Linked DNA regions of Homo sapiens: all the other regions are linked to region 1. Evidence: promoter capture Hi-C in 16 types of primary human blood cells and fetal thymus (Javierre and others, 2016). All regions are on one chromosome and are shown on one strand. The core of a region is centred on a gene start or on the middle of the fragment in contact, and the rest is flanking DNA. Distances in the headings are between cores, read along the strand shown. Region 1 holds the start of ANKRD31 (ankyrin repeat domain 31). Region 2 has its middle 13 kb from the start of GCNT4. Region 3 overlaps GCNT4 (glucosaminyl (N-acetyl) transferase 4). Region 4 overlaps ANKRD31 (ankyrin repeat domain 31). Region 5 has its middle 70 kb from the start of GCNT4. Region 6 has its middle 31 kb from the start of HMGCR.

The links. The method cuts DNA at HindIII sites, captures the fragments that hold promoters and counts their contacts. A CHiCAGO score of 5 or more calls a contact.
Region 2: a fragment that was not itself captured here is called in contact with the fragment with the promoter of ANKRD31 in region 1 in 8 of 17 cell types (naive CD4 T cells, activated CD4 T cells, fetal thymus and 5 more); the score reaches 11.2 in naive CD4 T cells.
Region 3: a contact is called between a fragment that was not itself captured here and the fragment with the promoter of ANKRD31 in region 1, in 8 of 17 cell types (naive CD4 T cells, non-activated CD4 T cells, activated CD4 T cells and 5 more). The highest score is 13.8, in naive CD4 T cells.
Region 4: a contact is called between a fragment that was not itself captured here and the fragment with the promoter of ANKRD31 in region 1, in 5 of 17 cell types (fetal thymus, naive CD4 T cells, non-activated CD4 T cells and 2 more). The highest score is 7.4, in fetal thymus.
Region 5: a fragment that was not itself captured here is called in contact with the fragment with the promoter of ANKRD31 in region 1 in 1 of 17 cell types (non-activated CD4 T cells); the score reaches 5.8 in non-activated CD4 T cells.
Region 6: a contact is called between a fragment that was not itself captured here and the fragment with the promoter of ANKRD31 in region 1, in 1 of 17 cell types (neutrophils). The highest score is 5.9, in neutrophils.

What each region holds. Positions count from the first base shown.
Region 1 is chr5:75,235,566-75,238,265 of GRCh38, reverse strand. ANKRD31 (ankyrin repeat domain 31) reads left to right here and starts at 1,388. Exons shown (of 26, transcript NM_001372053.1): 1 at 1,388-1,683. The coding sequence starts at 1,580. It overlaps LOC124901006 (a long non-coding RNA gene), which reads right to left and starts at 1,228. Exons shown (of 2, transcript XR_007058823.1): 1 at 900-1,228. RefSeq lists a silencer at 1,148-1,447 and an enhancer at 1,498-1,667. The HindIII fragment of the contact is 5,895 bases long and covers 1-2,700 here.
Region 2 is chr5:75,063,893-75,066,593 of GRCh38, reverse strand. No RefSeq gene overlaps it. Among named protein-coding and RNA genes, the nearest start is that of GCNT4, 13 kb to the right of the region's middle. The HindIII fragment of the contact is 1,567 bases long and covers 647-2,213 here.
Region 3 is chr5:75,040,193-75,042,935 of GRCh38, reverse strand. All of the region lies in intron 3 of GCNT4 (glucosaminyl (N-acetyl) transferase 4), which reads left to right. Among named protein-coding and RNA genes, the nearest start is that of GCNT4, 11 kb to the left of the region's middle. The HindIII fragment of the contact is 1,031 bases long and covers 817-1,847 here.
Region 4 is chr5:75,080,426-75,083,125 of GRCh38, reverse strand. ANKRD31 (ankyrin repeat domain 31) reads left to right here. Exons shown (of 26, transcript NM_001372053.1): 25 at 2,487-2,558. Among named protein-coding and RNA genes, the nearest start is that of GCNT4, 29 kb to the right of the region's middle. The HindIII fragment of the contact is 5,333 bases long and covers 1-2,700 here.
Region 5 is chr5:74,981,436-74,984,135 of GRCh38, reverse strand. No RefSeq gene overlaps it. Among named protein-coding and RNA genes, the nearest start is that of GCNT4, 70 kb to the left of the region's middle. The HindIII fragment of the contact is 1,231 bases long and covers 670-1,900 here.
Region 6 is chr5:75,367,269-75,369,968 of GRCh38, reverse strand. It overlaps a transcript of CERT1 not described here. Among named protein-coding and RNA genes, the nearest start is that of HMGCR, 31 kb to the right of the region's middle. The HindIII fragment of the contact is 5,347 bases long and covers 1-2,700 here.

The DNA of each region.
Region 1 (2,700 bases), core at 139-2,638:
AGTAAGTTTATTTTTTTATTTTTTGAGACATGGTATGACTCTGTTGCTCAGGCTGGAGTGCGTTTGCTCAATCATAGCTCATTATAACCTCAAACTCCTGGGCTCAAGCGATCCTCCCGCCTCAACCTGAGTAGCTGGGACTACAGGCCCATGCTACCATGCCCTGCTAATTAAAAACAAATTTTTTGCAGAGATAGGGGTCTCACCATGTTGCCCAGGCTGGTCTTGAACTTCTGGTCTCAAGCAATCCTCCTGCCTCGGCCTCCAATGCATTGAGGTTACAGGTAGAGCCACCACCCCCAGCCTCAAGTTAAGTTTAGAAGATAATCACCAATCAAGCATTTTAAATAGCAGTGGCTTGAATATACATAGTAAAAACACAAAATAATAATAATGATAATAATGGCAAAGCTACTCCATATAGTGAAAAGGGCAATGAATTGGGAAGTCAGAAATCTCTAGCTCCATCCATTTATGACAAAACTTAGACTTTATATGTGCTAGATGCTGGAGACTCCAAGGTGAATACTAAACACTTGCTATGGGAAAACAACTTGGTCTTTTCTTGAATCTTCTTCTCACTTGGCAAGTGGAAGCTCACTTGGCTTTGTTTTGAATTAGTTTGAATTAAAAATGTTCAACTAGACTGAAACACATCAAATATATAAAATTCTAGTACTTCATTAAAACGCAATTGACTACTTTTGGAGGTTGCTAGGCATTACTATTATTATAAAAATTGATAAAAGAGGAAAAAATAAAGCATTTATCCTGCCTTTCCTGCATAATCTGTATTTCAGGTAACCAAAGCGTTGTTGAGAGAAAAAAAAAATGCAAAATACATCACTGAGATTAGTTGATGAGCTAAAACTTCTGATAAACGTATCTGTTTTGTCTACCTCAGAGGACACTTGAGGAGAGGCTGTCAAGGGATTAAAGGGAAAGGAAGCACTTGGTGGGCTGCAAAAACTCTCTTTAGGTCTAAGGTCGCATTCTGGCTCCAGAATGCCAGGGCTGCTGGGGCGGGCAGGAGCTGACAGCTCTTCCCGTATCTGGGGCTCACAAGCATCAGGTGCATGGCAGGTCACCCTCCCGGCCAAGGGTGTTAAGCAGGCTCGGTCTGAGTTCTGGGTGCGCCACGCCTGCCTTTCTGGTCTCTGCAGCAGCAACCCCAGCACCCTCAAAGCCTAGCGACCGAGAATGAGAAACCGTGAAAAAAACACGCAGCGGCAGGCCACGCCCAGAGTAGGCCTGCGCGCGCGCGCGCGGCCTCCCACTTCCGGCCACGGGAGCTGGGGGCGGGGCCGAGCGCTGCGCAGGGCTCCGTCGTGTGGCGAGCGGCTGCCCCCTGTCTGCGACGAGCGGCGGGACCCGCGGGCCGCCTCGCAGACTGCTACCCCGCCGCGCTCGCGGCCGCCTGCGTCCTCCTCAGCAGCCCTGCGACAAGTCCCGGCTCCTGCTGCGATTATATTATTTTTATTTTTAATTCACAATTTCCCCTGGCCCTCAAAGCGTTTTTTTGTTTGCGGGCAAGAGGGAGTTAGAGGAGGGTAAAAAAGACTTTGAATGTGAGGCAAAGATGGAGGAAGGCGTCCAGGCCCCAGACTGGGACAGTGATGAAACTGTGATAGAGGGTTCAGTGACGGAGAGCGACCTGGAAGAAAAGGAGCTGCCCTGGAGAAGGTGACCATCATTAGGGCCACAGTGCCTGAACCCTCGCGCCAGGGCGGCCCAGGTGCCCTCTGAGGGGGTCAGAGTTTTGAGTGGAGATCGTGACCAGAACATGTGCTTGTGGGCAGGATCAGAGCCTTGTGGGGCAGCCGTGCCTGAGCTGAGAGCTTGTAAATAAGCAAACACAGTCTGTTCCCACCTACCCCCAACCAGCTAGGGATAAAATGAGGTTTGTACTAGGTGGCTTTATAGCATTTTTCAAAAGGCTTTCCTTTTGGGGGCTTTAAGTCTTTTTGCACAAGCAAAAAAGATCTTGGGTCTGAACTTAACTGCATTTTGTTTCAGGAGACTTCATTTTGCTTCAAGAGACTCGTAGCTCAGTTCTAGGAAAATGGGTAACAGTTTCTCTCAAGAAAAGAATGTGTGATGGGGAAACTGGTCCCTGCCAAACTGGAAACGAATAGTTTTATACGAATCCAAAAAAGTCGGTATTTCAGGTTATCGAAACCTTTCTCTAACATATTCTCTGTGCTAGACACAGGGAAAAGAGGGCAGGGATGAGGCCACTAGGTCTGCTTCATATGTGCTCAGGGCTGTGTCTGGGACTTAAGTTGGATCGTACACAGAATTAGGTCATTCTCCTTTCCCTCTCTCTCTTCTCCAGGATTCTCCTGCCCCCTTTCCTCATCATACCCACTTGCCAGTTCATATGATCAGAAAGACAGGTTTCTTTGAGTGTTAGCCTTTTCACTATACAGCAGTTCCTTACAAGGGGGACAGCCTTTAGCACAGAGTTAAGAAAAGAGAGAAAAAAGGGGGATTCTGTCCACACTTTTCAGGCAATACCGATCCCTTTTCCCAGTTCCTCTGGTAGACACTTTCTCTTGAGTTTTATGTTCCCCAGTTGCCATGGTTGGTGTCTGCTCTGAGGCTAGGGCCAGCCTTGGGGCAGGGCTGGGAGGTGAGAGAGAAAGCAACATAAAGCCCTGGGCTTTGTCCTATACCTTCTGGCATGCAGGGGTCATTTTC
Region 2 (2,701 bases), core at 181-2,680, 170 kb after region 1:
GCTCTAGATTTTCAGAATGGTACATGAGAATTGGTTTCAACATAAAGTCACCAGTTGCATTAGTCCCTAACAAGAGTCAACCTGTCTTTTGAAGCTTTGAAACCAGGCATTGACTTCTTCTCTTTAGCTCTAACAGTCCTACATGGCATCTTCTTCCAACAGAAGGCTGATTAATCTATAATGAAAATCTGTTTAGTACAGCCACCTTCATCAATAATCTAGCCAGGTCTTCTCGATGATTTACTGCAACATCTACATCAGCACGTGCTGCTTCACCTTGCATTTGTATTGTAGAGACAGCTTCTTTCTTTAAATTTCATGAACCAGCCTCTGCCAGCTTCAAACTTTTCTTCTGCAGCTTCCTCACCTCTCTCAGCCTTCATGAATTGGAGTTAGGGCCTTGCTCTGGATTAGGTTTTGGCTTAAAGGAATGTTGTGGCCAGTTTGATCTTCTATCCAGACAACTCAAACTTTATCTCAGCAATAAGGCTGCTTTGCTTTCTTATCATTTGTGTGTTCACTGAAGTAACACTTTTAATTTCCTTCAAGAACTCTTCCTTTGCATTCACAACTTACCTAACAGTTTGATGCAAGAGACCTAGCTTTAGGCATATCCCAGCTTTCAATATGCCTTCTTCACTAAGCTTAATCATTTCTAGCTTTTGATTTAAAGTGAGAGGTGTGCAACTCTTTCTTTCACTTGAATACTTAGGCCATTATAGGGTTACTAACTGGCCTAACTTCAATATTGTCGGAACAAAACAACTATAATAATAACATCGAAGATCATTGCTCACAGATTATCATATCAGATATAATAATAACAAAAAAGTTAGAAATATTTTGAGAATTACCCACATGTGACACAGACACGAAGTGAGCACGTGCTGTTGGAAAAACTGGTGCTGATAGACTTGCTCAATGCAGGGTTGCCACAAACCTTCAATTTGTAAAAAAAAAAAAAAAAAAAAAGATAATATCTGCAAAGTGCAATAAAATGAGGTGTGCCTGCTCTCATGCAAGTCCAGTGATTTTGGTGGGTGGTGATATGGTGTTGCTTTTTGAATATTTTCTTATTTTAAACGTATAGAACATTAAGATACATCTTTAGAATATATAAGAAACTGCTTAACAGTGGCCTCTGGAGAAATAAATTACGGGGCTGGAGAACCAAGGAAAAAGACCTACTTTTGACTACATGTACCTGGAAATATTTGTCTATTAATAAAAGTGTAAGGACATATTAAATCATTTTATTTTTCTTCCTTCAAGAGTCCAATGCAAATGTTCAGGATAGAATAACCCTACATATTGTTATATTTGAGAACCAACAGAAAATTATATTGTTTCACTATAATTTCCTTGGAGTGCCTGTTTTTCTAATTCTTAAATAATCTGTATGAGACTTTATTCTGTATTTTGCTTTATTATTTAAGATAATTAAAATATGAGCCATTTGAGAATATATGTACTAATTAAATTATATATATAAATAAAATGTAAATTTTTGGACAATGTTTAATGCAAGTACTGGCTTATTAAAGAAAAATTATATACCTTTGCATGCATAATATATACACATATACTGGTATATATGTAGATAAGGTATATTATATATGCATACTATATATAAATATATAATATATACTTTTTAATAAATAGCTCCAAAAATGTGTGTTTCTATGCGTGTGGGGTGGAGGTGGGGGTATGTTCAGTAAAAGTTCTAGAATGCTACAGATACAAATGTTTATAGTGCCTATCCCTAAGGAAGCTAGACTGAGGAGGATGAAAGGGTACTTTTATAGTTTACTTTCGACTTTAAGAAGAAATTAGGCACACATGTCTTTTGTAATTAAAAAAAATTTAAGATAATAATTTTTAAAACAGGCATTTTGTCTAGTGATTACAATCTATGAAAGTCATATATGCTAAGTTTTTAATACAAAAGATCTTGCAATTCTAAGTTTTCATTTTGGTGATTAAATTCTTAATTTCCCAAGCCCTTTTACTCTATTTTATATACCAACTGGTGACTGAAATAACATCCATTGCCCTTCAGGCATGCTGAGCATTGCCCAAACTAAACAACAAAAGGGTCTACTCCAACCAGAGTTGGAGAGAACTACCTTACCCTAGATTATCTCTGTGAGAAGACTGGGCAATTTAGGATGTTAGCTACATGTTTTACCTACTCTGGATTCTAAATGAAAGCTTAGGCTTCTGACCCTAAACCATAGATGAAAAATATCTAATCAATCTCATACGTGGTATTTTTATCCTTTTTATAAAACTGATTTTTTGAACATCTCTGGAATACTCCATACCCAAAAAGGAAGCCTATTCCTTTTCAAACAGGTAGTCCTCAGTGTTAGAAAGCCGGAACCCCTATGTTCCAGGCCTCACAACTCTAAATGATAATACTTCTTTTTTTTACAAGCTGAATTATTATGGCACAGCTTCCACTGGCTTGGCTGTTGGAAGATTCTAAACATACATTGCTATGGCTTCGTGGTTCCCTCTGAAACTCATGCTGAAACTTAATCCCCAATGTAGCAGTGGTGGGAGATGGAGCCTTTAAGAAATGACTGGGTCGCTGAGGCGGGCCGATCACGAGGTCAGGAGATTGAGACCATCCTAGCTAACAAAGTGAAACCTCGTCTCTACTAAAAATGCAAAAAATTAGCCAGGCGTGGTGGTGGGT
Region 3 (2,743 bases), core at 83-2,582, 200 kb after region 1:
TTCCATCCTTTTAACTTAATTTTTGAATTCCTGAGTCTTAATTTTATTGTGTCTAATATGCACACAAGATCTGAGAGCAATATGTACATTTTAAGCCAAGAAACACACAGATCTTAGCTAAATGGTGAAGTCATGCCAAGAGCTGCCAATCCTGTTTTTCAGTGGAAGTGCAGAAGCATGTTGAAGTCTCCAGCTGAGCTCCCCACCACATTGGAAGAACCCAGAAAACAAACAAGCAAGCTCTTCTCATGACTTAAAACTCAGGGTTTTCAGGGTGATGATTTTAAACTCAGGGTGTCTAATCCATTCATGAAGAGTGTGGTCTGGCCTCAAGCCATTTCTGACATCAATACCCTTGATTCATGTCTGTTTATCCCTGTGCTGCCTCTGCGATGGACATGGAGATTCTACTTTAAATGCACATTTAGAAATCAGTTACCCATACCTCTTCAGCTAGCCATGGAATCTTTGAGGAATTAATTTTGGCCAGTTGAAAAATATGGAGTTAGCCATATAATACCAAAATAAATGCTTCCAAAAATTTCTGAGGGGGAAAAAAAAGCATACCATGTAGATATTAGGTGGAGAAAGTTATTTTCTTTCTAGTGCAATAGATACACATTTTCAAAAATAGACATGTTTTTCAATTCAGTTTTTCTACTTTATAGAAAAAGAAGCCAAAATATTCTCAACCCATATTTTTAACTTAGAACATGAAACATAAAATGTAGTTTGGCTTTATGTTGTGTCAAGCTAAGTGAGAAGGGCAGAGAAGACGGGGATCCCAAGAAGGAATGAAACCTCTTTGATAAAGCTTGAGAGGCAAAGATGTAATGCATTCATTCACCCCTTTTTCATAATCCTTTATATCTAAAAAGAAGCAAACGTTTCATGTGAGCTTTTTCATCAAACTGAAATTTGAAGGCATAAGTATTTTTGAAATTCACCATCTTCTGATATTTTTTAGAATTTTCTTTAGAGAAAAACTGTTAATGTTTTACTCCCTTTTGAGGGTCACAATCTATTACAAAACAAAAACTTTTCATTCAGTTTCATTGTATGTGGCCCTTTACACTTCCTGCTAAAGACTTTAGCCATGTATCTTTGCCCAGCTAGATACACACACAGTCAGCTTTTGATATTTGCCCTGTGGACCAGATGAAATAAAGCCCAGAATCAAGTCTACTGTTTCCCAATTGGTGTGACCATGGGCTGAATTCTGCGCTTCTTTTTGTTGTTGTTGTTGTTGTTACATTGCTACAGCCCAGATTTCCAATGACCTTGAGAGGTCTATGCGTGGGTATGTACATCCTGATGTGGGTTACTCATTTCCCATGTAATCTTACAGGTCCTTTATTTCTGCCCAAATGTGAGAGGCTCCAGTAAAGTTTCTAGCTAGAAGAATTATAATCTATAGAGGTGGTTGATAGAATTATTTTCATGCTCAGTGTTTTCCTTTAGGTCTCTATTCTCCAAATCTTGCAGGTAAAGTAGTCCTTTATTCAGGGAAGATGATGACGTTCATAATTGCAGGCCTAGAGAGAAAGCTGTCAATTGTCATACATTCCACAGGAACATCAAACAGAGCTCCTTTAGTTGAGGGCATCTCAATTCACTGAGCTGAGCCAGTCTCACTGATGTGTGATCTGAATGACAGAGGACTGGCAAAGGCCCTGGGTGAGGGTGTGTTTGTGTATTCACATTGCTGCAGAATCTTCAGTACTGCTTTGTGGGTTCCGTGGTCCTTAGGGATGGCTTCACCAAACAGGGATGCAAGAACAAGTCATTGCATTTTTGCAATACCTGGAGAATTGCCCATAAAAGATAATGAACTTACAGGAAAAGCTTATAGCTTTTGCAACACATACTTACAGACCGCGTTTAGCCAATCATAACTGCATGAAACTGATTGCACGTGCTCTTGGCTGTCTTTTAAATAACTTTTTTGGTTATTAATCTTTTGAAAAATATCGAGCATACTGGGGAAAAAACTCTAAAGATTAACTACATTTCTTCCTGTCTCTCAAAATCCAAGACAGGTGTTTGTCTACATAATTCTGAAACTTTAGGGACAATTTATACTCCAGATATTAACAAAAAAGAATGCTGTCAAGTAGTGAAAAACCAATAATGATTAGAATGTCAGAATGAAGGGAATAATGAATGTACTGTTTTAGAAAAATAAAACCAACTTATAACACATTGACTCTTTCTCAGTTTTCCCAAGAAACCATTCCTCTTGTGGAGGTCCTCATACCTGACATTTGCATACCAAAGTTGTCTTTTTCCCCATGACTTTCACATACATTACATCATAAGACTTTCACAGTTGCACTGTGGGATAGAAAAAACATTATCCCATTTAACACATGGGAAAGAAAGATTTGCCAAGATTAAGTGATATGCTAGAGTCACTTGAAGAATTTTTTGTGGCAGAGCCCAGACTAGAACTTAGGTCTTCTGACTCTGTCCCATTGAGCAACTACCCCGTACCAGGTATGGATGTCTTTAATACTGGGGGTAAAGTAGTGAGTGAGGCCTTCAAAGACCTTATGTTTCTGTCTCAGGACAGGTACTAAACAAGTAAAGTAACTACTCCTTGTAGCAAGTGCTCAGAAGAAAACAAGGAGTGTGATAGGAGAGAGATTTAAGAAGGGTTAATCTGGGAGGCGGAGGTTGCAGTGAGCTGAGTTGGCGCCACTGCACTCCAGCCTAAGCGACAGTGCGAGACTCTCAAAAAAAA
Region 4 (2,700 bases), core at 51-2,550, 160 kb after region 1:
TGAAACATAAATGAATTTCATGTTTAGACTTGGGCCAATCCCCAAGATATCTCATGTATATGCAAATATTCCAAAATTTGAAAAAATCTAAAATCCAAAATACTTCTGGTCCCAAGCATTTTGGACTAAGGATACTCAATATTTATTACATAGTAATTCTATGTAGGAAGCACAGCGAATCTGTTTTCCATAGCAACTGAATCATTTTGCATTCCCAGCAGGAATGTACAAGGGTTCCAGTTTTTCTGCATCTCTGCAATACTTGTTATTTTCTGTTTGTTTTATAGCACTCAATTTTTAACCTTAGTTAATTCTAGCAGAATTTAAGAAATTACCCCATCCCTCACAATTCCTTTCTCTGAATCTATGCTGTACTTACTTTGGATAGATTTTTAAGTATCATATAAAAGGAAAAAATGAGTGTTGTTTTTCTTTCTGAAGACATGATTTGGTTTTGTTTATTTTCTAAAAATAAGCATTAAAATAAATCTTTGCTTATTAGAGTAAACTAATACCCTTTATCAGATGGAATAGCCTTTAGCCTGAGTAAACTAAAGAGAATGTAGTCTTCACCAGTGAGCAGCAGATTTTGAAATGATCTGGAAAAAGGCAGCACACATTTCTGAATAACAGCCATAACTACAGTTATATTACCCTCCTATGCTACAGCATCCCCTCTTTTTTTTCCTAGTGTCCCTGTCTTTGACCATTTGGGGACAATACAGAAGAGAGGAGGTACAAAACAAAAAATGATGATACTGTGATAACCAGGGCCAAGAATTAAACAGGGTTTCTATCACCAAGTCCCTACCCAGGGCCTCCCTGGGACTGTTCCTTTCCTATAACAAGCCCCAATAATTCAAACTACATTCCTTTCCTAACTTTTGCACCCTAATTTCTCAGGATCCTCCTCTGTCATAAAAACTGGCTCCATTAATAGGGTGCATTCTCCACAGTTTTCTGAAGATAGCCTCAAAAGTGTTTTTCATCATTTTTGGGAAACAGATAACATTAATAACTGGTAATATTAATAACTGGTAACATTAAAACAGGTAACATTAATAACTGTGGGGAAGTTAAAGGGCTTAAGAAATTGAAAAGAGTTCTTGTAGTAGTTCATGGCCTTTGGTTCCTAAGCTGACTACCTATCTAATCTACCTAATCAAATCATGGGGTAAGGCCCAGTAACCTGAATTTTTTAAAGTGACTCTTACACAGCCAGCCTGACTATAGACTTTGGATGACTAATAGTATTTGATTTCTTGTGCAAATAATAATTTGACAGTCCTTGATATTCACCCCTTTACTTTGATTCCTGAGGGTGGAATTGGAATTGCTAAAGTACTCTATCCTCTCTCTCTCTCTCCGCCCCCGTTGCTCCATCCCTTTCTCTCTCTCTCTCTCTCTGTCTCTCTCTCTCTCTCTGTCTCTCTCTCTCTCTGCCTCCTCCCCACCACCCACCCCAAACACACACTTGAAGGAAAACCAAACAAATGCTTTCTTCTTCTGGTTTCTAACCTAAGAGTTGAAGCAGAGCAGTAAGTATTTCCTTCTATCATGAAGGTCATCTGTTCCTCAGATTTTCTAGTTCTAGGCAGGCATTTCCAACCCTAGATAGGTATCTCCTTCCTCAGAGGGCACACAATCTCCCTTTTAAGTGAGCATGAAGTCAGAAATGGGTTCTGAACTGCTATTTCTGTTGCCTGTAATATAAACAGTTTCCTGTTATTTATTTATTTTCACAAATCCTGATTTTTCTTTCCATTAGATATTTCAGAAAATTTTTATGTTACTGCGCCATTGGACTCCAGCCTGGGTGACAAGAGCGAAGCTCTGTCTTAAAAAAAAAAAGAAAAGGAAATTTTAATGTTAATTTAAGAACCATGGAGGTAGCAGTGTGCCAACCAGCTTCTTGCTACCTTGGTCTGGACCTAAGAATCTATAGGCAGAGCCCTGCTGGCATTCTGTAGGCTGCTGTTGGAATTTTGTCTGAATCTCCTTAATTAGAATTCTTCTGTAGCTGGTTTTGTGGTACCTGACAGAAACCCAGAGACCTGGCAAGTTAGGACAATGCAAAACTCTCTAACCCTATTACAAGAAAAACTCTCAGGAGAGAATCTTTCTCCCTCTTCTGCATATCGAAATATCATCATGGAAATCATGGCTCTGACACTGTAGAGACCAGAAAGTCTAAAAAAAAAAAATAATTTTGTGTGGCTTTCATCAGCCTACCTCAGGTCACAAACATAATCTGTTCTCTTATGCTTTTTGATGACCATACTTTTTAGAATACTGTTTTTGGGGAAATAAGGGGAAGTAGGAAGAGCCATTTTTAGTTTATTATTTTATTTTTTAAATCATCTCTCCTAAAATGTCAAGGAAGAGCTATTTGTATTTCCCATCGGTAGGGTGACCATCATCCTGATTTGACCAGAGCAGTCCCCTAATTCAGCAAAATTATTACTAACGTTTTGTTTCACTTTCAGAAGTTGCTTGTTTAGATGACCCAGTACAGGAACCAAACAAATCAATGTTTGAGAAAACAAAATTTGGACAAGGTAAAAAAAAAAGAAAATATTCAATTCCATTTACTTTTATAAGTGTTTAGATTCTACATATTGTGCAAATAGATCAAATAGATTGTCAAATATTATGCATATCACTCCATATTATAAATAATTGCTGGTTACATCATCTTTA
Region 5 (2,700 bases), core at 36-2,535, 250 kb after region 1:
CTAAACCAAATTTAGTTTTCAGTTATAAAAAAAGACATGCCATTTAAAAAATGTCAACCAACACAAAATGACTGAATTTTTACACTTCACTTTTAAAATGTGAATACCCTTAGAAACATCAGGATTGCTATTCCAGGCACACACACATAGAGGAGTGTTTATTTCACGAAGGCAGGTGTTGACTACTAGAAATAAGTCATATATTTGAGAATCATTAGGGCAAGTAGTGTCTCAAGAGGCCTGTGTTTAATGTTGGCTTTGTGACTAAGAGAAAATATCCCTTTCTCATCTGCACCCCAAAGCTCTGTTGCCTCATTTATAAAACATACAATGATTCCTCTAGGTAATTCTACTTGTGAGCATTAAATTCCACCCTGTATTTTTTTCTCTTTGCTGTTTTAAGGAAATAAAATTTAGAAATTAAAAATTGAAAAGGCAGACTGCGATATGGTGCACTGGAAAGAGCCCAGCTTTTGGAGTCAGGACACCGGGACACTGCGGCTCTCATCCTGCAGCTCCTAATAGATCTGCTGTGTCAGTCTGGGCAAGTCCCTCCAAGCTTCTGAATTTCTGTTTCCTTATCTGTAAAGAAAAGTTGGGGGGGATGGCAGTGGAGTGGGGCAGGCAGGATAGGCTTTGAATGGCTGATCCCCAAGATCTCTTCAAGCTTGAATATTCTGTGACTTTTATTATATAAGCCAAGGTGTTGTGTAGTTGCAGTGGTAAGTTATGCTTCCAGCTGCAAGTAACAGGAAAACTGACTTACTATGGCTTCATTTTTTTTTTTTTTTTTCATAATCAAAAGATTTAGAGATAGGCAGTCCATTGGTTAAGTGGCTCAACAATGTCAGGGATAGCAATCTTTTTTTTTTTCCTTCTTTTAAAAATAGCTTTAAAGAGGTATACTTGATATGGAATAAATGCCACATAAAGGGTGCAATTTGATAATTTGACATTTGTATATGCCCATGAAACCAACCCAACCATCAAGATAGTGAACATGTCTATCACCCCCAAAAGTTTCTTGGTTCCCCTTTATAATCTCTCCCTCCTGTCTCTTCCTGTACTCCTCAGGTGACCATGGACCTGCTTTCTGTCACTGTAGCCTGATTCGAATTTTCTAGAATTTTCTATAGAGTAGTATGTACTCTTTTCTGTCTGGCTTCTTTCACTCAGCATAATTATTTTTAGATTGATCCATGTTGTAGTGTGTATCTATAGTTTCTTTCTTTTTATTACTAAAGAGTATTTCATTTATGGATATATTATGTTTTGTTTATCCATAAATGTTGCCCACTTATTGAAGGGCATTTAGGTTGTTTCCAGTTTTTGATTATTACAAATAAAGCTACTAAGAACATTTGTGTAAAAGTCTATGTATGGCCGTGCACAGTGGTTCATGCCTATAATCTCAGCTCTTTGGGAGGCCAAGCTGGGTGGATCACTTGAGATCAGGAGTTTGAGACCAACCTGGCCAACATGACGAAACCCCATCTCTGCTAAAAAATACAATTATTAGCTGGGCATGGTTGCAGGCAACTGTAGTCCTAGCTACTCAGGAGGCTGAGGCAGGAGAACAGCTTGAACCTGGGAGGTGGAGGTTGCAGTGAGCCGAGATCCTGCCAGTCATTCCAGCCTGGGTGACAAAGCGAGACTCTGTCTCCAAATAAACAACGACAAAAAAATGGTATGTATGAACTACATTTTCTTTCCTCTTGGGTAAATATCTAGGAGTAGGATGGCTGGGTCGTATGGTAAATAAATATTGAATTTGTTTTAATAAAACCCCAAATGTTTTCAGTGTGGTTCTACCACGTTACTTCCCTACCAGCAGTGTATGAGAGTTCCAGTTCTTGTACCTCCTTGCCAGCACTTGGTATGGTGGTTAAAAAAGAAAGCTTTTAGCCATTCTAAAAGTTGTATAGTGTATCTCATCATGGATTTTTGTTTTTGTTTTTGTTGTTGTTGTTGTTTTGGTTTTGGTTTTGGGTTGTTTTGAGACAGAGTCTTGCTCTGTCGCCCATGCTGGAGTGCAGTGGTGTGATCTCTGCTCACTGCAACCTCCGACTGCTGGGTTCAAGAGATTCTCCTGCCTCAGCCTCCCAAGTAGCTGGGACTACAGGCATACACCATCATTCCTGGCTACGTTTTGTATTTTTAGTAGAGACGGGGTTTCACCATGTTGACCAGGCTGGCCTTGAACTGCCAACCTCATGTGATCCGCCCACCTCTGCCTCCCAAAGTGCTGGGATTACAAGGCATAAGCCACTGTGCCCAGCGCATTGTGCTTTTAATTTGCATTTCCTTAATGCTGTTGAGATTCTCTTTATGTGCTTATTTTCAATACATTTTCTTGGTAAGATGACTGTCCAAAATTTTCCCCACTTCTTTATTGAGTTGTTTGTTTTCCTGTTATCAGGTTTTCAGAGTTATATATTATTTTTACCAGATGTATGACTTGCAAATATTATCTCCCAGTATGAGGCTTATCTATTCATTCTCTTGACTGTGTCTTTCAAAAACACAGTTTTTAATTTCGATAAAATTCAGTGTATCAATTATTTCTTTTATGCATCATGCTTTTAGAGATATATCTAAGAAATCTTTGTGACCCAGAGTTACAAATGTTTTCTATATGTTCTAGAATTTTGTAGTTTTAGATTTTACATTTATATCTATGATCCATTTTGAATTAAATTT
Region 6 (2,700 bases), core at 23-2,522, 130 kb before region 1:
TTGCCATTATTCGAACTTGGTTACAACAGAGTTCATACTATCATTTATATTGTCTACCTTTTAAGACACATTTTCTGTGAACGTTCCACATCTGTATACTTTGAATAGCCTTGCACAAATACCATAAGTGAAGCTACTTTATTTGGCCTCTTCATTCTCTCTTCCTATAGAATTCTGTGAGGTTAGTACTAGAACAAATCTTTAAGATCTCTGAAGTTATTAGAAGATGCCAAACCAGGATTTTCCTGTCACCCAGGCTCTGTGGTTGATGAGGTGGTGTGTGAGGGTATCTCCGCCGTGTCTGTACCGGCACTATGCCTTTTCTGACTCCTCCCCACTCAACAGTCCTGTGGAGGTGGTAGCGGTGATTGGTGGTACCACCCCTGTTTTACAGATGAGGGAACAGGTTGGGGTTACAAACCTACTGATTCCCTGACTCTTAAGTTTTTTTTTTTCCCATTAGACTCTACTTTTTAATGCCTATGTGTAATATCTAGAATATAGTGTTTGATGGACTAGAAAGAGCTAACATGCTTGAAGACTAGCAATTTTGGTGTATGGGTCTTAGTCCCACACTTCAATATTGGCTTCACAAAATTCCAAATACACATGGTTCCTTAACAATGGTTCGATTTATGATTGTTCGACTTTATGCAAAGCACTACAAATACAGTACACTCCAACTTACCATGGGGCTGCGTTCCGATAAACCAGTCATATATGGAAAATACCGTAAGTCAAAAGTACATTTTCAGCCGGGGGCAGCGGCTCACACCTGTAATCCCAGCACTTTGGAAGACTGAGGCGGGTGGATTGCCTGAGGTCAGGAGTTGAAGACCAGCCTGTCTAACATGGTGAAACCCCTTGTCTCTACTAAAAATAAAAAAGTTAGCTGGGTGTGGTGGCATGCACCTGTAATCCCCAGCTACTCAGGAGGCTGAGTCAGGAGAATTGCTTGATCCCGGGAGGTGGAAGTTGCAGTGAGCTGAGATTACACCACTGCACTCCAGCCTGGGTGATACAGCAAGACTCTGTCTCCAAAAAAAAAAAAGTTTTCAACTTACGTTATTTTCAACTTGCAGTGGGCTTATCAGCACATAGCCACATCATAAATGGAGGTGCTTCTGTCAAAAGTACATTATTGTTTTATTTTCAACTTACAGTGGGGCTTATCAGTATGTAGCCCCATCATAAGTCAAGGGGCTTTTATAACGATGTGTCTTACAAAATCCCACCAGATACAGAAAGGAGGGCAGTAAAGATGAAATTTGATCACAATTAGGTGCTTAAACTTTCTTCCTGTCCTCCAGCTCAGAGGATGAAACAGGAAACTGAGTCATAAAACACTACTACAAACAAGCCCAAGGATTTTATCCCAGATTTTCAACCCAAGGATGAGCTGCAATATAACTATCACTGTTTTGTTGGCTGCCTGCCACAGAATGACCACTGAGGAAATAAAGCGAGCTTTGGATTCACTGCAGCTTGGTTTACTGTGGTTCTTTTCTGTATTACCGTTGTTAGGATTGGGAGGTTTAAGTGGTAACTGGGTCCAGCAGCAGGGAATCTGCGTGCAGCAGCTAAATCAAGGTTTAGTCAATGTCCAAAACACTTTAGCAAATTGGATATCAGTAATTCCCCAGCACCCTAAAACAGTTCCCAGAGCAAGTATTTATTGAGCTCCTACTACATGCCATGAAGGATTGGAGATAAACGATAACCAGCATATAGCCTTCATTGTTGTCATAACCAGGCTTTTAAGAAATGTATCCAAAGTTAAAGGAAATAGGCTGGCCCGGGCGCGGTGGCTCACACCTGTAATCCCAGCACTTTGGTAGGCCGAGGCAGGTGGATCACGAGGTCAGGAGTTCGAGACCAGCCTGGCCAACATTGTGAAACCCCGTCTCTACTAAAAATACAAAAATTAGCTGGGTGTGGTGGCGGGCACCTGTAATCCCAGCTACTCGGGAGGCTGAGGCAGGAGAATCATTTGAACCCGGGAGGCAGAGGTTACAATGAGCCAAGATTGCACCATTGTACTCCAGCCTGGGCGACAGGGCAAGACTCCATCTTAAAAAAAAAAAAAAAAAAAAAAAGGATTTGAGATCAGAAGCATTTGAATAAGGTACATTGAACAATAGATTTAGCCACATTTGAGATGTACAAAAGTGTTTTTAATTCTTGGTTCTCAGTTCTCAAAAGATAGATAGGAAATAGGTTGTTGCTGTGTTTTAAGTTTACCAACCTCTGTACATTGATAGCACCACATTAATGGTATTCATTTTAATTTAAAACTACAATTTATAGTCTGTGACTCACTTTTCATTCCCAGCATCCAGTAGGTTTTTGTTGTTGTTATTTCTAAGTAAATTTCCAAGTTCCTGGTTACCATGTGTTAAACATACTGAGAAAGAATGAGACTTAGAAGTCAGAAGACCAGAGGTTCTCTTGCTCTCTCACTTGAACAGCTTTTATCTTGGGCAAATCATTTTAATGTGTCTAAGTCTATTTTAATCTATAAAATTATACAAAGCCACCTACTATGGCTACATCACAGGGTGGTTTGGGGAAGAGCAAGATAATGTATTTTAGTGCTTTAAAAACTTTAAAGTACTATGCAAATACTAAGGAATACTAAGGCAACTACAAATATGTGCTAGGTGCTGGGTTTTGAATGGTAGAGATAGGAAGATGAGCAAG